4 separate regions of the Homo sapiens genome follow, and all the other regions are linked to region 1. The links are contacts of gene promoters, found by promoter capture Hi-C in blood cells and fetal thymus (Javierre and others, 2016). All regions are on one chromosome and are shown on one strand. The core of a region is centred on a gene start or on the middle of the fragment in contact, and the rest is flanking DNA. Distances in the headings are between cores, read along the strand shown. Region 1 holds the start of CHP2 (calcineurin like EF-hand protein 2). Region 2 overlaps PRKCB (protein kinase C beta). Region 3 overlaps PRKCB (protein kinase C beta). Region 4 overlaps PRKCB (protein kinase C beta).

Region 1 (5,820 bases), core at 1,296-3,795:
GGTGTGAGCCACTGTGCCTGGTCCAGCCCTCTCTTAAAAGCTTGTGTATGATGTGTGCATGGGAGTTCCTAATTACTCTCCGGCCTAATTTACTTTGGTGTAGCACTGACTCCAATATTAAGGCTGGAGAAGCCCTTTCCAAGATCAGCATCCCAAGCTGGCCTGCGGTGCTTATCACAGCTTCTTAGGGCTCTCATCTCCTCCTGGGTTCAGAACTGAACCCAAACTACATGCACAGCCTGACTCACAGCTGTGGGTTGCAGTGATTGCTGGGCTTCATTAGGGAGGAGTGTGGTTTCCCGCATGCTTAGTCTTTGGGGGGAGTCTGAAAGAGAATCAAGCATTCCTTATGCCAGTTGCTTAATCCTTGGGGGTATCTGAAAGAAGCAAGCACTTCTTAGATCAATATTTTCAAGACTTATCTGATGCAGGCCTCTGCCTGGGGCTGGAGGATAGACTGTTTCTTCAGCTTCTCTCTCTCCAGGGTGGATATGAACTTGAGCCCTTGCAATGAACTGCTTGCATGTTTTCCCCCCTGGGAAATTTGTGTATGTATGTGCAATTATGATGGGGGAAACGGTTTAAAGATACTTTCAAAAGTGGACACTTCTAGTGTTTGTCCCTTGACAAATGAGTTTCTCGACCTGTTTTTTTTTCATTATCAACGCCTCCCCTAGTCTTTTTAATTTCCCCACCCTCACCCCTACCCCATGAAATTTTATTTTCTTTCTTTTTTTTTTTTTGAGACCAAGTTTCGATCTTTTTGCCCAAGATGGTGTGCAATGGCGCGATCTAGGCTCACCTCAATCTCCACCTCCCGGGTTCAAGCGATTCTCCTGCCTCAGCCTCCCGAGTAGCTGGAATTACAGGCATGCACCACCACGCCCAGCTAATTTTGTATTTTTAGTAGAGACTGGGTTTCTCCATGTTGGTCAGTCTGGTCTCAAACTCCTGACCTCAGGTGATCCGCCCGTCTCGACCTCCCAAAGTGCTGGGATTACAGGCATAAGCCACCGCGCCCGGCCTCTTTTCTTTTCAAGACAGGGTCTCACTCTGTCACCCAGGCTGGAGTGTAATGGCGTGATCATGGCTCCCTGCAGCCTCAACCTCCTGGGCTCAAGTGATCCTCCTGTCTCAGACTCCCAAGTAGCTGAGACTACAGGCATGTGCCACGACACCTGGTTAATTTTTTTTTTTTGTATTCTTTTGTAGAGATGGGGTCTCACTATGTTGCCTAGGCTGGTCTTGAGCTCCTGGGCTCAAGCAATCCTCCTGCCTCTACCTCCCAAAGTGCTGGGATTACAGGCATGAGCCTCCACGTCTGCCCTGAAATTTCAATATCACAGCTATACTGTATATCTATTTATGTGCTGTATGTATGCTGTGCTTTGTACATAAAAAATATGTTTTATTTTTTGCCCCGTTGGGGTGAGATAGAGACCGCACTGAGAATGCACGCTTTACATAATTAGTTCACAACTTGCCCCCGGCAGCCTCCACCACGTAAAATTAGAAGAAAGCAGCCCAGCAGGGCCTACAAGGAATGTGTGAACGGATGCACGTAAAGTGCTTAGCAAAGCGTGGTAAACAAGAGCCCTTGTTGTCATTCTTGCTTTAAGCCTAGTCCCAGTGATGTCTGTAACCCTCTCTTGGGCCAAGGAGTCCCATGGCTCTGGAGGGCTGTTCAGAGGACTAAGTCATTCCCAGTCTGGAGCTCTACGGGATCAGTAGGTACCTAAGGGAGTGAATTGGGCTTGGAGGGACTGTGGCCAGAAGACAGCTCTGGGCCTGGTGGTGATAGAACTTCTGATTTCTCAGGAAAAGCCAAGAATGTGGATTTTGGGTTAAATCTCCTGAATTTTAAGCATTGGCTCAATTAAACAACAATAAGGCAATGTGAACCGAACAAAAGGGATGAAACCAAGATTTACTGACTTTCCCAGAGTCACGGGCACGGCTGGGATTCCAACAAGGACTCCCAAACCAGTGCTCTTTCCACTTAACCTAACGCACACCCTTCATCTCGCCGCCCCTCCCCACTTCCCCGTCTTTGGGAGTTCTTCGATGCCTCTTCCCCCCTCCCCCCAGGATTCCCTCCCCATAGGCCACCCGCCTTCCAGCAGGGCGTGGTCTCTACAGAGGAGGTCAGGTCTCCCAGGCTTCCTCAGCGTCGACGCCGGGGAGCGCCCTGGGGTTGGGAGCGCCCGGGGCCCGCGAAGGAGGAGGTGGCTCAGGTGTCAGGGCGCACCGTGGGAACCGGCCCCGGGGGAGGCGTGGAAACGCGGGGCCTGGGACTCGACCAGCCTCTCCCGTGCGGATCGCAAAATCTCGGAGCTGAAACAGCCCGTTGTTCGCAGCCTCCCTCTGACCCGCCACCCTGCACATTGTTTTCCATTCGCCCGGGTCGCGGGTGGGAGGAGAGGCACGCCGGGGTTCTGGAGCTTGGCCGCGCGCCAGGCTTGTGGCCTTCGTCCCCCTGGGGCCACTGGGGCGGCCACGCCTCTCCGGCGGGAGGAGAGAACGCGTGGGTCCGGGTGGCTGCTCCGGCCCTTCCGCCTCCAGCTCGGCCATGGGGTCGCGCAGCTCCCACGCCGCGGTCATTCCCGACGGGGACAGTATTCGGCGAGAGACCGGCTGTGAGTGCGCCCGCGTCGGCGGCTGCGGAGGGGACGGGGCGAACCCAGGCGTCTGGGGCTAGGGAAGGGGTTGGGTTGAAGGATGGACGAACTTACAAGTCTGGGGTCCGGGGCTCCCCGGAGCTGGAAGACCAAGGCCCCTGTGCCTGGGATCGCTGGGTTAGGGGCGGGTTAACCTAGGGGTCCCAGCCTCCAAGTCTGGGGAGGATCCGGGTTCACGGGGTCGGAGTCCAGAGGAATCCAGGCACCCAGGTGTCCTCCAGCCCGGCTCGAAGCTGAAGGCAGAGCTGACGGCGGTTGGAAGGGATGGCTTTGGTTCTTTGGTTTTCGGGAGGTTGCGAGCCGCCCGGGTCTTGAACCTGGATCTTCGCGGGGTCGTGTCACTCTCCCTCCGCCCCGGCCAGCTCAACCCCTGATTCCCCGGGATGATCGCCCCTTCCAGCCAGCCCCCGCTGTTCTGGCCCATCTTCCTGGCCTGTTGGGGCGGGTTTCTGGAGCTGGCCCTGCAGAGTCACACACCCCCACCCCACTCTCCTTCCCGCAGTCTCCCAAGCCAGCCTGCTCCGCCTGCACCACCGGTTCCGGGCACTGGACAGGAATAAGAAGGGCTACCTGAGGTGAGGGGGAGCCGGCCTCATAACTTCTGGCCTCTGTCTCTCTGACTCCATGTCCCTCTTTGACCCTCCGTCTGGCATCTCTGCCTTACCCTCTTTGAAATTTGGCTTTGCAGCCGCATGGATCTCCAGCAGATAGGGGCGCTCGCCGTGAACCCCCTGGGAGACCGAATTATAGAAAGCTTCTTCCCCGATGGGTGAGGCTTGCTGGGCGTGGGGAGGTGAAGGCGGGAAAACCGGTGTGTGAGTGGGTGGGAGGGGAGGTTAGAGACGGAGGCAAAGTGATGGCCAAGGTGACCACCACCTCTTTCCATTCTGTCCCGTCTCCCCAGGAGCCAGCGAGTGGATTTCCCAGGCTTTGTCAGGGTCTTGGCTCATTTTCGCCCTGTAGAAGATGAGGACACAGAAACCCAAGACCCCAAGAAACCTGAACCTCTCAACAGCAGAAGGAACAAACTTCACTGTGAGTTTGTGAGGACCTGCACAAGTGAGAATGCAGATGTACCCACACCAGGGACAGGCTCCAGGGATCTCCCACTCCCTTCCTGAGGGCATTGACAACCTCCCCCCTCCTCCAAGGTGGGGGGAAGGAAGGTGGCTGCTGGAAGAGAGCCAGGGAAGACCTACCTTCCTTTCCCCCTCCCACCCTCTCCCCAGATGCATTTCAGCTCTATGACCTGGATCGCGATGGGAAGATCTCCAGGCATGAGATGCTGCAGGTTGGCAGAAAGCGAGAGCAAGAGATGTGATGTGTGAAGGATGGGATGGTTAAATGCAATGGTGTGAGAGATGGGGTGGGATGATTGGGGAACTGGGGCGCAGATAATTGGGGTATTGGTTGGGAAATGGGAATGGGTGCAGTTAGAGTGTGGGTTTGTTGGGAGTCGGAGTGGGGAGCAGTTGACTATGAGGTTGGGAATAGATCAGTGATTCTCAACTGGGGGTGATTTTGCTCCCTGAGTGAATATCTGGCAATATCTGGAGATGCTTTTTGTTGTCACAATGGGGGAGAGAGTGTGCTACTGGCATCTAGTGGGTAGAGGTCAGGAATGTGGCTATATATCATGCAATACCCAGGAGAGCCTCTTCCAACAAGGAGTTACCTGGCTCCAAATGTCAACAGTGCCAAGATTGAGAAACTCTGGAACAGATGTGATGGAATGAGGATGGAATTAGAAACCCTTAGTGGCTAAGGTGGAGAATGGTGTGGAGGATGGATGGAGGTTGGGTGATAAAGTTGGGTAATGAGTTTGAGCATATTTTGAGGGTAGTGCAGGATGGTGAGGGAGAGATAGGAGATTGGTTGTTGAAGCAGTAGGGAAAATTATTGGGGGATATGGTGAAAAATGGATGAAGGATGGATTATAAAATTAGCAATAACTTTTGGGATGAGGTGGGCAAGGTTTAGGAGATGGGGAGTTGCAGCCTTCGTGCCCCCTCCTTATGGCTGCCTCTTCACTCATCTCTCAGGTTCTCCGTCTGATGGTTGGGGTACAGGTGACAGAAGAGCAGCTGGAGAACATCGCTGACCGCACGGTGCAGGAGGCTGATGAAGATGGGGATGGGGCTGTGTCCTTCGTGGAGTTCACCAAGGTCAGAGTGCCCTTGGGGATTGGGGAGTTGAGATCAGGAGTTCTGGGGCAGACAGACTTGGGAAACGTTCAACGGAGGAGGGCGGAAAGATAGGGGTTGCCTGGGAATGATGGGGTCTCTGGAATGGGTAGAACCCTGGGGGAGGAGGTTGGGAGCATGGAGAGCTGAGAGTCAAGCCTCTTGCCTGCCATTTGTTTTTCCCTCAGTCCTTAGAGAAGATGGACGTTGAGCAAAAAATGAGCATCCGGATCCTGAAGTGACTCCGTTTGTGCCTTGGGCTTGCTCCTGCAACCAGTATCTCCTTGGAATTCATCCAAAGCCCCCATGGACGCATGGACGCAGGGCGACAATAAACTGTATTTTCGTTTCTAACTCTATTTAGGGCCAAGAGAAGAAAGCTGGAAGGATGTGTACTAAAGTCTAGCTCAGCAGTCCCCAACCTTTTTGGCATCAGGGACAGTTTTTCCACGGATGGGTGACAGGGGATGGTTTTGGGATGATTCAAGTGCATTACATTTATTGTGCACTTTATTTCTATTATGATTACATTGTAATATATAATGAAATAATTATACAACTCACCATAATGTAGAATCAGCAGGAGCCCTGAGCTTGTTTTCCTGCAATTAGACGGTCCCATATGGGAGTGATGGGAGACAGTGACAGATCATCAGGCATTAGATTCTCATAAGGAGTGCACAATCTAGATCCTTTGGTGTGCAGTTCACAGTAGGATTTGGGCTCCTATGATAATCTAATGCCACTGCTGATCTGACAGGAGGCAGAGCTCAGGCGGTAATGCAAGCAATGGGGAGTGGCTGTAAATATAGATGAAGCTTCAGCTCGCCTGCCGCTCACCTTGTGCTGTGCAGCCCGGTTCCTAACAGACCACAGACCCCACACCAGGTCTATCTCATTTGGTCTCAGAGCTGTGAATCAGCCAGCAATATTTTAGTTGCAAATCACTGAAAACCCAA
Region 2 (5,808 bases), core at 1-2,500, 310 kb after region 1:
CTGTTTTTCAGCTCACTGATTTGCCTTCTAACTGCTTCCAATCTGCTGCTAAGCCATGCATTGAGTTATTAATTTTAAGTATTGCATTTTAAATAAACTTTTTATTTTAGAATAGTTTTAGATGTACAGAAAAGTTGCAGAGGATAGACTTCCCGTATACCTTTCACTCAGTTTTCCATTATTAACACGTTACATGACCATGACACATCCGTCAAAATGAAGATGTTAACACTAATTAGTACTGTATTGTTAACTAAACTCCAAACTTTATTTGGATTTTCCTTTTTTTTTTCACGATATTCTTAGTGTATTCCAGGATCTCATGTAGGATACCAAATTACATTAAGTTGTCATGTTTCCTAAGTGTCCTCTGGTTTATGACAATTTCTCAATCGTTTCTTATTTTTCATGACCTTGACAGTTTTGAGAAGTACTGGTCAAGTATCTGGTAGAATGTCCATCCACTTGGGAATTATTGTATGTTTAATTCTAAAGCTTTCATTTGCTTTATTTAGTTATTTTGAGACAAGGGTCTTGCTCTGTCACCCAAGCTGGAGTGCAGTGGCACAATCATCACTCATTGCAGCCTTGAACTCCTGGCCTCAAGCAATCTTCCCACCTCAGCCTCCTGAGAAGCTGGGACCACAGGTGCATGCCACTGAGCTTGGCTAATTTTTAAAAATTTTTGTAGAGATGAGGTCTCGCTGTGTTGCCCCAGGCTGGTCTTGAACTCCTGGCCTCAAGTGATCACCCCTCCTCAGCCTCCTAAAGTGTTGGGATTACAGGTGTGAGCCACTGTACCCAGTCAGTTTCTTTTTTGTAACCAATAGTTCTCTGGTGAAACTTTCCACATTGTCATCCTTTCTCCCTTCTTTTAAACATCTTAATAAGTTATTTTAAAGTTCATGTTTGATAATTCCAGTGTCTGAATCACCCATGGATCTGCCCTCTTGTCTGTTTTTTTAAAATTTTTTAGACGGGATCTTATTCTGTCACCTAGGCTGGAGTGCAGTGGTGCAATCATAGCTCGCTGCAGCCTCTACCTCCTGGGCTCAAGCAATCCTCCCACCTCAGACTCCTGAGTAGCTGGGACTATAGATGTGTATCACCACACCCCACTAATGTTTGTATTTTTGTAGAGATGGGGTTTTACTATGTTGTCCAGGCTGGTCTTGAATTCCTGAGCTCAAGCCGTCTGCCCATGTTTGCCTGTCAAAGTGCTGAGATTACAGGCATGCATCACCACGCCTAGGTGTTTTTTGCTTCTGGTCCTATTTCTTGGCATGTTTGGAAGTTTTGTTTGAATTTCAGATGATTCCTTGCTAAATTAGAAAGCTGTTGGACAGGTGTGGTGGCTCATGCCTGTAATCTCAGCACTTTGGGAGGACAAGGTGGGTGGATCATCTGAGATCAGGAGTTTGAGATCATCCTGGCCAACATAGTGAAGCCCCATCTCTACCAAAAATACAAAAATTAGCCTGGCATGGTGGCACATGCCTGTAATCCCAGCTACTGGGGAGGCTGAGGCACGAGAATCACTTGAACCTGGGAGGCGGAGGTTACAGTGAGCCTGGGTGACAGAGCGAGACTCCGTCTCAAAAAAAAAAAAAAAAAAGAGAGAGAGAGAGAGCTGAGGAAGAGGTTATTTTCCATGCAGGTTGGGGTCACCCTTCTGGTGGTGATCGAGCTCACTGTGTGCTGGTTTATAGCCTTCGTAAGGTTTGTTCTATTTCTGGTTCATTTCCACTCCTATGGTGTAGAGGTTTCCAACTCTGAGGCTGAAGACTTGCCAGGGCCCTCCTTTTAACTGGGTCCTGAACCCCAATTTTTGTTTCTCTAGCACCATAAGCCTGACAAAACCTCTCAGCTGATTTCTGTTTTGTGTCTCAACCTCTGCAGTGTGATTGGTAGAGACTCAAGAGAAAAATCAATGCCTAGCGTTGAGTTCACTTCTCTGCTCTTCCCCTCCCACTATGATTTGGCCCCTCAAGTCCTGCCTTCCCTGGAAGCTTTGATTCCTAGCCCCAAGAATAAGCTTCAAGCTCTGGTGGCCTCCCTCCTTCTTAGCAGGTGCCCTCTGTCTAGCTTCTTAGTCCTTTGCCCTGTGTTGAGAATTGATTTATGGCCCAAAGGAAAAAAAAAAAAAAACCACACACAGAATATTGGACTTATCTTAATTCTAATTCCTTCAAAATTCCAGTTTCTTGAAAAATATTTTTTATCTGGCTTTTATAGTTGCTCTCAGTGGGAGAGCTACTTTATCATTGCCCCAAGTGGTATGATATTAAATAAAAATATAAAATACAAAATAGATTTAGAGTGGTATAATTATGTAAAAATTGAATGTTAACATGGAAAAAGACCAGAAGGTGAATATACAAATGAAAGCATTTATTTAATTTTGGGATAAGATCTAAGGTAATATTTGTTTGGTTCAGAAAATTATTTTTAAAGAAGGGTGTTGTGAGCATCAGTGATAGAGTGAGGAATCCTCATTTCTTTCAGATCCTGGTAGGGGACCCTGAGAACTTTGGGGAGTGAAGATAGTGAAGTAAAGGTTGCTAAGCATTCTGCTAGAACACTATGGAGACAGCGATATAAAATAAGAGCCAATAATAACAAAGTAGCACATAGTGAATGTTTACCATATGCCAGACATTCTATTAATTTATAATGATTGTAACATTCCTATGAGCCAACATCCTTATCATTAGCCCCATTTTTTAAACAAGGAGACTGAGTTACCGAGAAGTTAGGTAACTTTCAGGTCACAAAGCTGCTCTATGGCAGAGCTGATCTGCCAGGATCTCTGGGTTTAAGCTCCTCACCATCACACTTGACTAATTTGGTATAGAAAGTGGCTTTAGATCAGATAAGGGTACATGAAATGCAGGAGGTGCCGTGTTAGAGGACAGTTTGGTCCAGTCCCCATGTCCTGGGGCAAATGAAGCAGATGGCCTCAGAACAGCCTGTTTTTAAATCATGTAAGACTGACTTCTTTCAGCTGCTGGATTCCTGCCTCCCAGAGTGAGACGTTGAAGTTTGGCCCGGAAGAGGCTGAGCACTGGGGACGAGCAGTGCTGTGCTGTGTATAGAGTGCTTAAAACAGTGCCTGGGTCTGAGCGTGGTGGCTCATGCCTGTAATCCCACCTCTTTGGGAGGCCATGGTGGGAAGATTGCTTGAGCCCAGGAGTTTGATTTCAGCCTGCAACATAGTGAGACCCCATTTCTACAAAAAATTTTAAGAAGTAGTCAGGCATGGTCGTACACCTGTAGTCCCAGCTACTTGGGAGGCTGAGGTGGGAGGATCACTTGAACCCCAAAGGTTGAGGCTGCAGTGAGTCGTGATTGCACTACTGTACTCCAGCCTGAGTAACAAAGCAAGACTTTGTATCAAAACAAAACAAACAAAACAAAACAGTGCCTGGCATATAGTATGTGCTCAATAAAAGTTGTCATTGTTATTGTCATGACATCATCAGAGCCTAGAACAAATCACAAAACCTGTATATTCTCTCTGGGCTGGAGGTCTTAAGATTCTTCTCCATTCCCAACGGGTACTCCCGAGATGACGTGATTCATGGCCATTCCTTCCTTCCTTCAGTGTGTGGCTCACACTGTGCTGGGCTATGGCGTCACCACTGTCAATACGACAAATAAATGGATAATTACAGCAAAGTGTTAGGACTGCTGTGCCAGACACGAGTGCAAGGTGTCCTGGGCAACCAGGGAAGGGACGTTAACTTACACTGGGATTGGGGCCCTGTGATGGTAAGCTTTTCATCTTGCAGGAAACCAGGGGATTTTTTTTTTTTTTTTTTTGAGACAAGGTCTTGCTCTGTCGTCCAGGCTGGAGTGCAGTGGCACGATCTTGGCTCACTGCAACCTCTGCCTCCTGGGTTCAAGCGATTCTTGTGCCTCAGTCTCCCAAGTAGCTGGGATTACAGGCATGTGCCATCACTCTTGGCTAATCTTTGTATTTTCAGTAGCGACGGATTTTTGCCATCTTGGCCAGGCTGGTCTCAAACTCCTGACCTCAAGTGATTCGCCTGCCTCAGCCTCCCAAAATGCTGGAATTACAGGCATGAGCCGTTGCGCCCGGCCTTGAAACCAGGGAATTTAATGACATTTAAAAATCATTTATTAAGTATATATGAAATATATAGAAAATAGTATCCCAGGCACCTAATAGAACAGAATAATAATAATGACTAGGAGTTGTTGAGTGTAAAATAGGTTGCAGTCATTACAACGCATATAATAGCATGAAGTATATAGCTCCTCAGCCCTCTCAGCCATCTTATGAGGGAACACTGTTGCTATTCTCATATTACAGATGAGGAAACTGAGGCTCAGAGAGGTTAAGTAATCCTCCAAGCCTCCGCAGCCAGGAAGTGGTATCACTTTGAACTCAAACTCAGGTCTGTTTGATCCTGAGGCCAAGCCCTTGGCCAGAAAAATTAGGAAGTCATAGTCCCTTCCCTTAAGGAGCTCTATTTAATATAGCAGAACAAGTAAAGCAAGTACATATCTCTCTAAAGTATACTGTGTCACTGAAGATAAGAAAGGAAGAAATCCTGTGATGGGTCAGATGAAGTCAGGAAAGGCTTCTGGGAAGAGGTGGCCTTATAGATCTAACTAGAAGGATGAATGAGCTTTGGGCCAAAGGCAAGGGAGGGAACCATCTGGACAAAGGGTAGTTAGTACACACTGTGACCTGAAGAGGGAGCTCAAAGCCCCCCTCCACTCCAGGGCTGATGTGAGGATGTGAGTTAAGGACTTGGATGCTGCTCTTGGGGCTTTCAGAGATAGGGGAGGAGCTTAATGACCTCGTCTTCATGATATACCCTAAGCATTCTCTCTTGGCTTTCCATTTGAGACTTACTCTGCCTTCAGACCTCTCAGAACTCTGCATATCTGGTATGGTAAGAGGAGCCTGAGCTACCTCTTCTCTGCATTGCCTTGAAAACAAAACATGGCCGGGCACGATGGCTGACGTCTGTAATCCTAGCACTTTGAGAGGCCAAGGCGGGTGGATCGCTTGAGCTCAGGAGTTTGAGACTAGCCTGGGTAACATGGTGAGACCCTGTCTAAAAAAAAAAAAAAAAAAAAAAAAAAGACAAACAGGACTGGGGAAAAGGAATAAGAGGAGCCCGTCCAACCTTCCAATTTCCACCAATTTTAATGTGGATCCAGAATTGAGAATGCTAGTCTAGCTCAACTCAACAGGGCCAGTGGTTCTACTTGTGATTGGGGGTAAAGGTCCTAGGGTAGTAAAGAGAGTGAGTACCTGCCTGGCTTGTCCGCTCTGCACATGTCTCTGGGCAGTAGCTGTGGGATGTGGTCCTGGACACTAGATCCCATCTGTCTCCTCCTATGGAGGCAGGATCTTACAGGGAACAGCCGGCAGCCAAGGCTAGCTGGAGTCTGGCCTACACCATATAAGGAGATGGTGCAGGAAAGGCTGAAAGTTATGGTGGGGGCCGAAGAGGGCGTTGAGTTGCAGTAACCATGCCCAAGCCTTTGTGGAGTTAATGATCACAGTGGACACATTCTGGAGGGGTCGTCGGCATCACTGGGCCCTGCTCCAGGATCTCAGCAAGGATGTTATTATTATCATGAGGGTGCCCAATTCAGTTTGCTACTTGTTTATGGGCTGATTGCAATTTGGATAGAGTTTAACCCCCACCCCACCCCCGCCTTTTGTTTTTAAAAATTTGCTGAGGTGAAATTCACATGACTTAAAATGATCTGTTTTAGAGTGAACAGTTCAGCGGCATTTAGTACATGCACAGTGTTGTGCAACCA
Region 3 (6,161 bases), core at 2,709-5,208, 270 kb after region 1:
GGCAGAGGTCCCAAATCCAAATTCCTACAGGGTCCAGGCAGGAAAGGGGAAAGAGAGAAGCAGGCCTGGTGTAAGACAATAGGGAAGAGTGGGGACTGTGGAAAACTAGAAAGTTTATTACTTATCTAAAGGGGAAAACCACTGCTCAGCCCACAGAAATGAGTGTTCTGTGTTGTCACAGCTGATGATTTCTCAAAAGGAAGCAATATTTCACATTTTTTATTCTTTCTTTCTTTCTTTTTTTTGTTTGAGACAGAGTCTCGCTCTGTTGCCCAGGCTGGAGTGCAGTGGTGCGATCTCAGCTCACTGCAAGCTCCGCCTCCCGGGTTCATGCCATTATCCTGCCTCAGCCTCCTGAGTAGCTGGGACTAGAGGTGCATGCCGCCACGCCCGGCTAATTCTTTTTGTATTTTTAGTAGAGACAGGGTTTCACCGTGTTAGCCAGGATGGTCTCGATCTCCTGACCTCGTGATCCGCCTGCCTCGGACTCCCAAAGTGCTGGGATTACAGGCGTGAGCCACTGTGCCTGGCCAAAATTTCACATTTTAATCTGATAGTTCCTGACTTAAATATAGTAAACTTATTTGGATTTCTAAGAAGCACCTTGTTGGCCAACGGTAGCTTCTTTACAGGCTTGATATAGCTTCTGGGTTCCACACTGTGGCCCCTGGGCATGAAGGAGGGCCCAGGCCAGGGATGGGACAGGCTCTAGGTGGCCTGGAGGTGTCTAGTCAGTGTGGCCTGGGTGACGAGGATCTGATGTAAAATGAGACTAGGGGAGGGATTGAGGCAGAGATGGAAGCTGTGTCTTTTTTTTTGTTTTTGAGTCAGAGTTTCTCTCTGTCACTGGAGTGCAGTGGTGCCATCATGGCTCACTGCAGCCTTGAATTCCTGGGCTCAAGCGATCTTCCCACCTTGGCTGGGATTACAGGCATGAGCCACTGCTCCCAGCCAGGAAGCTGCATCTTTGAATGCGATCAGAACCAAACCCCATAGAGGGAGTGATGGCTTACAGGCCATGAGGATTCCCAGACTCATCTCAGGCTTGGTCAATACCCACAGCATCAAGGCTAGGAAGGGAATGTATTTTGGTTAAAGGCAGGACTGATACTTATTTATTTATTTTGAGACGGAGTCTCGCTCTGTCACCCAGGCTGGAGTGCAGTGGCGGGATCTCGGCTCACTGCAAGCTCTGCCTCCCAGGTTCACACCATTCTCCTGCCTCAGCCTCCTGAATAGCTGGGACTACAGGCGCCCGCCACCACGCCCGGCTAATTTTTTGTATTTTTAGTAGAGACGGGGTTTCACCGTGTTAGCCAGGATGGTCTTGATCTCCTGACCTCGTGATCCGCCAGCCTCGGCCTCCCAAAGTGCTGGGATTACAGACGTGAGCCACCGCACCCGGCCAGGCAGGACTGATATTTAACCTGCATGCCCTGGCACTACTGTACCAGTGGTGGAAATATTGAAATACTCTGAAACCGATGGGTAAATAGCCACTGGGTCCTCTGGGCCTTTTCCCCCAACCTTCCACTTACCCATATCTGCCTCTGCCAGCTCCTACCACACCCCCTCCATGACGTGGTGACTAGAGTGCTAACTCCCAGCACAGCCAGGCTCTGCTGTCCATTCCGTTTGGTCTGTGGGCAGTCCCTGAGCCAAGGCAATTATAGATATCTTGACTCACCCCTGGTTGTAGGTAACATGCCTACCTGGATTGGCTGAAGCACAAAGGACAAATTTTAGAGGACACAGGGAGGCAGATGGAATTGGAAGGCAGGATGCCAGAACCCCAGGGACCAGAACCAGGAGCTTCATCCCTGGGGTCATGTAGTCTTTGTCTTTGTTTCTCCAGGTTCCTCAGAGCGCACCATAAAAATCAGCACCAACTGTCATTTGCTACAATGTGGATGAACCTGGAGGACATTATGCTAAGTGAAATAAGCCAGGCACAGAAAGACAAATACTGCATGATCTCACTTAGATGTGGAATCTAATGAAGTTGAACTCACAGAAGTAGAGAGTAGAATGATGGTTACCAGAAGCTGGGGGACAGCAGGAGGCAGGAGTAGGGAAGAAATGGAGAGTTGCTGAGCAAAGAGTACAATGTTTCGGATAGGAGGAATTGCCTTTGAGATCTATTGCACAGCAGGGTGACATTAGTCAATAATATGTATGTTTCAAAGTAATTAAGAGAGTAAATTTCAAATATCTCAAGCTAAGAAAATGATAGGCAAGTTAGGTGATGGATATGTTAATTTTCTTGATTTAATCATGCCACATTGTGTGTGTATATTCAGAACAATCAGAACAATCACATTGTACCCCATAAATGCATACAATTATAATTTGTCAATCAAATATAAAATTAGCAGCCTCAGCCCTGGAACTGTATGTCTGCTGGCCTCAGGACTGATTACCTGTGTCCCAGCCACTCAGCATATGTGACCCTTGAGCCAAGTGTCCACCTCTGCCCCAGTCAGCTGTGTTCAGGGAATGTGGATGTCTCAAAGTACAAGCATGGCTTTTGGGAGGTGCCCATCTCAGAGATGGCATTGGGCTCAGGCAGGCATGGAAAGGTACCCTGAAAGATGCACCTTGAGGGTCGTGGAGGGAGTCATGAGGACCACAGGTGTAGGAGTGTGGCTTTAAGCTCTTTCAGGTAGCAGGAAGGAGGAGGGAAGAATCCACTGAGGATGACCTGGTTTGTCTGGTCTGAAGGATTGGGGCAGTGGGTGGGTAGAGTTGGTGCCTACAAGTATGATCCCTCATGAAAGCGGAGGGAGGGGAATGAGGTCAGAGGAGCTCTCCAGCAGCCTCTAAATAAGCCGTAAGAAGTCAATGTTTCCCTGCAACTTGCCGATTGGTTTTCCTGTCTCTCATCTGGCTCTAATCTGTGCTGCACAGCCCCTTCTAAGTCATTTTCCTAAAATAGCATGTTTATGGTGCAGGGGTTTGCAGTGGCCAACAGCGATGATTGCAGCCCTACAGCTGTCACAACAACCCATTGACCACTGTGTGCAATGCTGTGCTTGCCACGGGCAAAACACTTCGTCTCTTAGTTCTTCGGTTTCCTCATCTGTAAAACAGGGGTAGTAAGTAGTATGTACTTTATAGGGCTGTTATGAGGATCGAATGCATTAATGCCTGATGAATCCCTTAAAATAGTCCCTGGCATGAATAAATGTTCCATAAATGTTAACTCTCACTTATTAAGTATTTATTGAGCATCTTCTGTATGCCAAGTACAGTTTATGCCCTGAGAGTATAATGATGAGCAAAATTTCCTCACATTGCATGCAGTGAAGTGTGGAAGAGATGCAATTAAGCGTGCATTTATAAGTCAGTGGTTTAAGTGCCGTGATGGAGAGGATTTAGAATATAAGTTCCATGAAAGCAGAAGCTCTTTTGTTCACAGCTGTATCCCCAATGCCTAGGAAGAACTTGACCCTCAGTATACATTTGCTAGGTGAATGAACGAATGAGTCAAGTTCTATCTTAGCCGCACATGAAGATGAGGTGTCAATGGAGTAAAGTTGGGAGTGAGGAGAGAAGGGAGGGGAACTTGGTGTGAACCCCATCTCTGCAAGGGTCCAGCTGGGTGGCCTTGGTGAAGTTACTCTGTAGTTAGGATCTGTTTCATTGTTGCTAAAATGGGAACAAATGATACCTTCTGCATGGCATGTCATAAGGATTGGAGAGAGTACATGTGAGACACCCAGCGTACACATGTAGCTCTCAAGCAGTGTGTTGAGACTGGGTGTGGTGGTTCACACCTGTAATCCTAGTACTTTGCAAGGCTGAGGCAGGCAGATCACTTGAGCCCAGGAGTTTGAGACCAGCCTGGGCAACATAGCAAAAACCCTGTCTCTACAAAAAATAAAAATTAGCCAGGCATATGGCATGTGCCTTCAGTCCCAGCTGCTCAGGAGGCTGAGGTGGAAGGGTCGCTTGAACCTGGGAGGCAGAGGCTGCGGTGAGCTATGATCGCACCACTGCACTCCAGCCTGCATGACAGAGCAAGACCCTGTCTCAACAAGACAAAAAACAAAACACACACAAACACAGAAATGTGTTTCCTTTTCCCTTCCCATTCTTTGTGCTTCTTGGTATCTCCTCTTGTTTAAGAGACTGTTGATATGGAGAAAGGTCTGGATCATTTTTGGTCAGAAATGCTTGAATCCTTGTCTTGGAGATCGCTCAAGAAAATATTTACATGAAGAAAAGTGCAAAACCAACAGAGGCAACTTATTATTAGTTGTGATTTTGCCCCAGATCTTAAAGTAGAGCTCACAAGGCCTTGAGGAACTCCTTTCTTCTCTACTAGGCAGGACTAAGGAAATTCAAACCTGAACTCAAACCTAACTCTTGGCCTCTGTAAGATCAATATATCAGAGAAACCAGAAGGGACCACAAGAGCCAAGAGTAGAGACAGAATGTGTCCTAGGTCTTGGAGAGGAGCTGGCTCAGGCCACTTCTACCAAGGGTCTCAGGGCAATACTATAAGACTTGGACCCAGTAGCGTCCTGGGAGAAGTGAAGGATGTAAGGGAGAAGGAGAAGAGAAAGATGGCAAGGATGCCTTTTAACCTCCATGCGAGCTCCACCACTGGGGTCTGGCCAATCCGTGTCTTGGAATCCATCCAATTAAATCAACTCTGCCTCCTTAGAGGTTAAGTAGGGGTGTAAGAGAACCTGGAGCTTCTCCTACAGGCCAATACCAGTCATGAACAGGGGTTCCTTTTTTATTATTATTATACTTTAAGTTCTGGGGTACACGTGCAGAATGTGCAGTTTTGTTTCATAGGTATACACCTGCCATGGTGGTTTGCTGGACCCATCAACTTGTCATCTACATTAGGTATTTCTCCTAATGCCTCCCCTAGTCCCCCACCCCCCGACAGGTCCAGGTGTATTATGTTCCCCTCCCTGTGTCGATGTGTTCTCATCGTTCAACTCCCACTTATGAGTGAGAACATGCGGTGTTTGATTTTCGAACAGGTGTTCCTTTTTAGGTGGGTTTGAAGCACTGAACTCCCAACTTTAAGGTGAATGTCCAAGAAGCACAATGGGAACTGTTCTGTGGCACAGAGCAGGGGGACTCTGATAGGAACCTTATGTATTCACTTAGTCTCATTGTCCGGAGATAGAGACATGGCTGGTTAAGCTGCCAAAAGGGATCCCTTAGTTTTTTGGGGGGTGGATTTCCAAGCCCTGTTGTTGTTACTAGGACGGCACCTCAATCTTTGAGCAGGACAGATGATTGCTGGGGTCCTTTTGTAGCTGAGAGCACTCAGGGTCCCACTGGCGACAGCAGAAAAGACCTCGCTTCTCAAACTTGGCTGTCCAGTGCTCTGGACGAGTACTTCATCTGCCTGACTGCAGAGGGTGGGAACGTTGTGAAAGAAACTTTGTAGCTCATTAACAAGATAAGAAGCAACCGAAGTCTGCAGTGGCTGAGGATTTTCAGTCAGGTTTATTGAGACATACGTTTCCTGTGGTAAAAGTCACTTTAAACAATTTTTTTTGAGACAGGGTCTTGCTCTCCCACCCATGCTGGAGTCCAGTGGCGTGATCATAGCTCACTGCAGCCTTGAACTCTTGGGTTCAAGTGATCCTCCCACCTTGGCCTCCCTAGTAGCTAGAACTACAGGCATGCACCACTATGTCTGGCTTTAATACATATATATAGTAGAGACAGGGTCTCACTGTGTTGCCTAGGCTGATCTCAAACTCCTGGGTTCAAGCTCAAGCAGTCCTCCCGCCTTGGCCTCCTAAAGTGTTGGGATTGAAGGCATGAGCTACTGTGCCCAGCAAAATTCACTTTTTTTCTTTTTTCTTTTTTTTGAGATGGAGTCTTGCTCTGTCGCCCAGGCTGGAGTGCAGTGGCATGATTTCAGCTCACTGCAACCTCTGCCTCTTGGGTTCAAGCAATTCTTCTGTCTCAGCCTCCCAAGTAGCTGGGACTACAGGTGCATGCCACTATGCCCAGCTAATTTTTGTATTTTAAATAGAGACAGGGTTTCACCATATCGGTCAGGCTGGTCTTGAACTCCTGACCTAAGGTGATCCACCCACCTCGGCTTCCCGAAGTGCTGGGATTACAGGCATGAGCCACTGCTCCAGGCCACAAATTCACTTTTAAAAATATAAAGTAAAATT
Region 4 (6,572 bases), core at 3,508-6,007, 300 kb after region 1:
GGCTGAGTGTGATTAGCAGGGATAATGGCATTTAGTTGAGACCTCAGGGACCAGCAGGAGGGAGCCAGCTTGCTGAAAATTCCAGGGAAGAGTATACCAGGCAGAGGGAGCGGCAGAGGCAGAGGCCAGAGGGAAGAGTGAAGCAGCAGGCTTGTGAGTGACAGGAACTGACAGCCAGTGGGTGTGACTGGAGCCTCGGGATGGGGAGGGGTGGGTGACGCTGGAGGAAAGGCAGGGACAGCCAGTTAGGCTTTGTGAGCCCCATGGTGGGCTTGGTTTCTTTCTAAGTGCATGGAAATTTAGATCCCAGGAGTATCTGAAGGACATCATGCAAGGTCAGTGTGTTTAGGCCCCAAAACCACCCAGTGGGGGCAGTCATTTTGTTTTTCTCATTTTACAAAGGAGAAAACAGAGCCTTGAAAAATCTGAGCCTGGTGTGGTAGCATGTGGCTATGGTCCCAGTTACTCAGGAGGCTGAAGCAGGATCATCAGTTGAGGCCACAAGTTTGAGACCAGCCTCAGCAACACAGTGAGAAAAAAAGTCTTAAAAATTAGCTGGGTAGGCAGGGTGCGGTGGCTCATGCCTGTAATCCCAGCACTTGGGGAGTCTGAGGTGGGTGGATCACAAGGTCAGGCGTTCGAGACCAGCCTGGTCAACATAGTGAAACCTCATCTCTACTAAAAATACAAAAAAAAAATTAGCTGGGCGTGGTGGTGCGTGTCTGCAGTCCCAACTGCTCAGGAGGCTGAGGCAGGAGAATCGCTTGAACCCGGGAGGCAGAAGTTGCAGTGAGCTGAGATTGTGCCACCGCACTCCAGCCTGGGTGACAGAGTGAGACTCCATCTCAAAAAATAAATAAATAAAATAAAATAAAATAAAATACAAATTAGCTGGACATGGAGGCATGCACCTGTAGTCCCAGCTACTTGGGAGGCTGAGGCGGGAAGATGACTTGAGCCCAGGAGTTGGTGGCTGCGGTGAGCTATGATCTCGCTACTGCACTCTAGGCTGGGCGACAGAGCGAGACCCTGTCTCTCCTTCTAAAAAAAAAAAAAAGAATTTGAGCACCCGCCTCTAGTCCCTAAGGCAGTGCATGGAGGAGGCTGGATTTGTACCCTGGGTCCATCTGTCTGGCAGGTTCTAACACATTAAGTCAGATGTTGGAAAGATACAGTTTAAGACTATGAGACATTGGAACATAAGAAACACCCACCATACCAGTGGGGAGAGGAAGGAGATGCTTCAGCACTGGTAGTTCTCATAGTCTTATCTTTCAGTGGCTTTAGGGCACAGGTTGGGACTAGTTTAGCCTTAAGGTCTTGGAGAAGACCTGCTTTTCATTTGCCTGTTGCCCCAGCACTGTGGGGTCAGAATCTTTCTTGTGATCAGAGTTTAGAGAAGGGAGGGAGCAGTGGGCTGGAGGCATTCCAGGTAGCCCTGGAGAAGGCAGGAGAGGCATAAGTTAGAAGGGTGAGGGAAGGGAGGAGGGCCAGTGGCTGACGCTTACTGAGCCCTTGCTGTGAACCCAGCACAGTGCTAGCCATCGTGGGGCACAAAAGCCTGTGCAAGATGCAGTCGCAGCTCCTGAGCAGCCTCGCTGTCTGGTTGGGTTCCATCTGCTTTACCACTACCAACAAAACCAAGGGACGGACACCTCTTACTGATAGTAACCACCAGGCACTGGGCGAAGCACGTTGCTCAGCCATGTCGTATAATCCTATCAACAACCTGTAGTCCCAGCTACTTGGGTGGGAGAGAGTTACTGAGGGCATCTCCATTTTACAGATGGGGAAACTGAGACACAGAGAAAGAGGTTAAATAACTTGCCCAAGCCACACAACTAGGAAGATGTGGAGCTGGGACTTGAATCTAACTATGCCATTCCAGATAATTAGGCTCTTGGACACCGTCTTATCCTGGCACTAAGTACATCAGTGGAGTGATGATGATACATGATATTAGTAGCAGCCACTTTTACTTCTTTCTTTTCTTTTCTTTCTTTTTTTTTTTTTTATAACAGAGTCTCACTCTGTCGCCAGGCTGGAGTGCAGTGGCACAATCTCAGCTCACTGCAACCTCCGCCTCCCTGGTTCCAGCGATTCTCCTGCCTCAGCCTTCCAAGTAGCTGGGACTACAGGCATGCGCCACCATGCCCAGCTAATTTTTTTGTATTTTTAGTAGAGACAGGGTTTCACCATGTTGGTCAGGCTGCCTGACCTCAAATGATCTGCCCACCTCGGCCCCCCAAAGTGCTGGGATTACAGGTGTGAGTCACCGTGCCCAGCCACAGCCACCTTTTCTAAAACCCTTCCAAATGCCTGGCTTTTGCTAGGAACTCTACAAGCGTTCCTTCAGGTAATCCTCCTAACAACTTTTGCTATTACCCGTAGTCCTTCTCTCCATTATATGGTGAGGAAACTGAGACTTTGCTTCATATGACTCCATTTTCCCCAACACTTCCTGCTAGCCTGTTTTGCTCCTTTGGGAGTATGAGAGTCAGTGTTTGCTGGACTGTGAGGCTGAAGATGATAACATTTCTTCAAATTGGCCTGTTTTTTTTTTTTTTTTTTTTTTTTTTTTTTGCAGAAAGACAGATTTCACTGGCCAAGATCTGCCCAAGAGGCTGAATAAATTCCTAGGTTGTGAGAAGCAGGTGGATGGAGAAGACTTTCTCTCCAAACCTCCCTGTGTTAGGACCAGGGAATGGGTTATGTGAATCTGGCAACCCTGTCCCACCCTGGACCTGCACCCTTTACCACTACCCTGGCACATCCGGGACCTGCACCCTTTACCACTACCCTGGCACATCCGGGACCTGCACCCTTAACCACTACCCTGGCACATCCGGGACCTGCACCTTAACCACTACCCTGGCACACCCGGGACCTGCACCCTTAACCACTACCCTGGCACATCCAGGACCTGCAACCTTAACCACTAACCTGGCACATCCAGGACCTGCACCGTTAACCACTAACCTGGCACAACCAGGACATGTGCCCTTAACTATTACCCTGGCACAACCGGGACATGCACCCTTAACCACTACCCTGGCACATCTGGGACATGCACGCTTAACCACTACTCTAGCATCATCCGGGACCTGCACCCTTAACTACTACCCTGGTCTGCCTCCTTGAGTGGCCCAGGGAACATCTAGAAGCTGAGAGAAAGAGAGGGATAAAACCAAGTTCACAGCAGTATCCTAAGAAAGTGTTCTCACTTAAAAATGCAAAGATGCTCACAGAGTGTTCAGGTTACACTGGAAAACTCCAGAAACAAAGTGGTTTGTGTACATGGGAGGAAGCAGAATCAACTTCCCACCTTAGCATTGTGGGTGCTTAGCCCACGCCTGTGTATCGCTCAGGGAATCAGAGTCACTATAAGCATCATGGAATAAGGGATTTACTGTACACGTTAGACCTTATACAAGCTTGGAGATGCTGGAGACGGGAAGATCTGGAGGGGTGAATTGAGAATCAGAGGAAGAGCAGTGGTGCAGGTGGACAAGTAGGAGTTGGTAGGGGATCCAAGAAGCCAAGCACGTTGAGCTGCTGACATAGATATTGATGAATTTCATGAAGCTTTTACAGGCACTGGTTTCACCCTTGGGTAACTCAGTACAGGTATGTTGACAGCCTTCCACTAATTCAAAGATGGTTCATAGGTGTCCCAGAATCTTTTAATTCCCAAGTGAGGCAGCCCCAACTCCTTCAGCCATTTACTTTCTAATCCTTAATCCACAGCCCACAACCTCAAACACATGATAGGGCCGAGTATGCCATCATTGATGTCAACCCGGAACTCTTCCTAGACAACACTCCAGTTGGAGTAGCTTCCTTATAAAGCAGGGTGCCCAGAGTGAAAGAGAATCCACCTGTGTTGCCGAGGAGCGAAGGATTGTCACTTTCCTTATTCTAGATCAGCTGTTTTCAAACCTTTCGGCTTCCAGCCCATCTAGGTTTTATGTAACACACACACACACACACACACACACTGCACAAACAAGCACAAACTCACAAACACACACACATTGCACAAACAAGCACACACTCACAACCAAAACCAAACTGCCATTAATGCTTACCTCTACTTATGCTCACCACACACTCTGATACATTCTCCTCTCTTTTGTGGCCCTCTTTTCTGTTCATTTCCATTCTATTTCCTTTAAGAAACCCTTTAAGGAAAATGCTCTTACTCTGCAAATTGATTTCACTAACAATTGGCAAATGTGTCATGACCCGCCGCTTGAAAAACACTGTCCTAGACAACAAAATTCTCTTTCTGCATCCTGAGATGATACTACTCTTTTGGGGGGTCTGGGGGTACCACCAGCCACATTGCACTGTTGACTTATCTTGGGTTTATGATCAGTTAAAGCTCTCTTGTCTATCACATCGGGTGCTGCTAGCCTGCAGGCCCCACATCCTTGTGCAAGATTTTTTTTTTTTTTGAGACTCCAGGATGAAACCTGATGCATTTCATCTTGTAGGGTTTGGCCTTTTGCTCCACGGCCAGGCTGAGAGCTTTTGGGTCTTCCTGTTCTTGTGCCGAGTGTCTTCCGGACATCACCTTCCTCACACCATTCTCTGTGCTACTTGTTCTGCCCTCCTTACTTTTGAAAAGATAGTTTATTACTCATAGATGAGGAGCAGGCGTGCCACTCCATGAAAGGCCACACAGGGAAGCAGCAGGGTCTGCCAGGAGGCAGAGGAAGCGGAAAGAAAACGTGGCAGGAGCATTTGCTGCTGTTTCTGTGAGAAGGAGCAGGTAGGGCGGGAAACCAGCCTTAGGGCTGGCTGGTTTGAATGATCTCAGCAGACTCTGGGTGTAGAGGCTGTCTCTCTAGTTGCCTGGTACCTGATACCTGGTGCTTTTACCTGGGGTAATTAGCACAGGCTGGCCCAGAGTGTAAGAGCCCCATGAAGGAGTTGGTTGGAGGTTTGGGCTTTGGATTGGTTGGTTTGCATATGAAAGGTGCGCTTGCAGGTGAGTTCTTTACTGTCTCTAGGAATGGGCTAGCCCTGGGACAGACAGTTTCTCCAGGGTCAGCAAGGCTCCGAGACACCAAAGCATCAGAAATACAGAAAATAGAGCCAGGTGCAGTGGCTCATGCCTGTAATCCCAGAGACTCAGGAGGCTGAGGTGAAGAATCACTTGAGGCAAGGAGTTTGAGACCAGTCTGGGCAACATAGTGAGACCCCTGTCCCTAAAAAAAATTAAAAATAAAATTACCCAGGCATGGTAGTGCAGCATGCCTGTAATCTCAGCTACTCAGGAGACTGAGGAAGGAGGATCACTGAATCCAGGAGTTCAAGGAAAGAGGCCGGGCACAGTGGCTCACGCCTGTAATCCCAGCACTTTGGGAGGCTGAGGCAGGTGGCGAGTGAATCACCAGGTCAGGAAAGGGAGACCATCCTGGCCAACATGGTGAAACCCTGTCTCTACTAAAAATACAAAAATTAGCTGGGCATGGTGGCGGGCACCTGTAATCCCAGCTACTCAGGAGGCTGAGGCAGGAGAATCGCTTGAACCTGGGAGGTGGAGGTTGCAGTGAGCAAGCGAGACTCCGTCTCAAAAAAAAAAAAAAAGACATAAAATTAATAGACCTTAGACTATTTTATTTAATTATTTTATCAAAATAGGATAGGCATAGTTAAAAATGCCAATGTGCATTGGAGAGCTGAGGATGAAAAGCAATGTCCTGTACTTGAGCTTGCATCAGAATCATCTAGAGAGTGCCCCACCCTCAGAGTTTCTGATTCAGTAGACATTGAAGAATGAGAATTTGAATTTCTAACAGGTCCCCAGAGAATGCTGGTGTGTTCACACTCCGGTTACCAGAAAGGGATCCCGATCCAGAACCCAAGAGAGGTTCTTAGGTCTTTTGCAAGAAAGAATTCGAGGCAAATCCATAAAGTCAAAGCAAGCTTACTAAGAAAGTAAAGGAATAAAGCATGGCTACTCCACAGGCAGAGCAGCCCTAAAGCTGCTGGCTAGCCACTTTTGAGGTCATTTCCTGATTATATGCTAAAAAAGGGGTGGATTTTTCATGAGTTTTCTGGGAAAGGGGTGGCAGATTCCCAGAACTGAGGATTCCTCCTCTTTTTAGACCATGTAGGGTAACTTCCTGACGTTGCCATGACGATTGTAAACTGTCATGGCGCTGCTGGGAGTGTCTCTTAGCATGCTAATGCATTACAATTACTGTATAATGAGCAGCAAAGACGACCAGACGTCACTTTTGTTGCCATCTTGGTTTTGGAGGATTTTGACCTACTTCTTTAACACAACCTGTTTTATCAGCAAGGTCTTTGTGACCTGTACCTTGTGCTGACGTCCTGTCTCATTCAGTGACTTAGAATCCCTTAACCTCCTGAGAATGCAGCCCAGTAGGTCTCAGCCTTATTTTACCCAGCCCCTATTCAAGATGGAGTCACTCTGGTTCAAACATCTCTGACACTCTGAGAACCACTGCATTGGAAGACACTATTTTCAACTCTTTAAACTCTTTCTTCCAGCACTTGAGCTCTAAATTTTAATCATGTGCTCTGTCTCTCTGTCATTT

The links. Contacts are between HindIII fragments. The CHiCAGO score rates a contact against its expected background, and 5 or more counts as called.
Region 2: a fragment that was not itself captured here is called in contact with the fragment with the promoter of CHP2 in region 1 in 1 of 17 cell types (total CD8 T cells); the score reaches 5.1 in total CD8 T cells.
Region 3: a contact is called between a fragment that was not itself captured here and the fragment with the promoter of CHP2 in region 1, in 1 of 17 cell types (megakaryocytes). The highest score is 5.3, in megakaryocytes.
Region 4: a fragment that was not itself captured here is called in contact with the fragment with the promoter of CHP2 in region 1 in 1 of 17 cell types (naive B cells); the score reaches 5.3 in naive B cells.

What each region holds. Positions count from the first base shown.
Region 1 is chr16:23,752,481-23,758,300 of GRCh38, forward strand. CHP2 (calcineurin like EF-hand protein 2) reads left to right here and starts at 2,546. Exons shown (of 7, transcript NM_022097.4): 1 at 2,546-2,636; 2 at 3,181-3,253; 3 at 3,367-3,447; 4 at 3,583-3,713; 5 at 3,908-3,969; 6 at 4,721-4,843; 7 at 5,050-5,820. The coding sequence starts at 2,570. The coding sequence ends at 5,103. RefSeq lists an enhancer at 2,434-3,079. The HindIII fragment of the contact is 3,392 bases long and covers 39-3,430 here.
Region 2 is chr16:24,066,345-24,072,152 of GRCh38, forward strand. The region is part of intron 5 of PRKCB (protein kinase C beta); the gene reads left to right. Among named protein-coding and RNA genes, the nearest start is that of MIR1273H, 130 kb to the right of the region's middle. The HindIII fragment of the contact is 1,514 bases long and covers 494-2,007 here.
Region 3 is chr16:24,022,261-24,028,421 of GRCh38, forward strand. All of the region lies in intron 3 of PRKCB (protein kinase C beta), which reads left to right. Among named protein-coding and RNA genes, the nearest start is that of MIR1273H, 180 kb to the right of the region's middle. RefSeq lists an enhancer at 454-613. The HindIII fragment of the contact is 8,464 bases long and covers 1-6,161 here.
Region 4 is chr16:24,046,495-24,053,066 of GRCh38, forward strand. The region is part of intron 5 of PRKCB (protein kinase C beta); the gene reads left to right. Among named protein-coding and RNA genes, the nearest start is that of MIR1273H, 150 kb to the right of the region's middle. The HindIII fragment of the contact is 2,349 bases long and covers 3,584-5,932 here.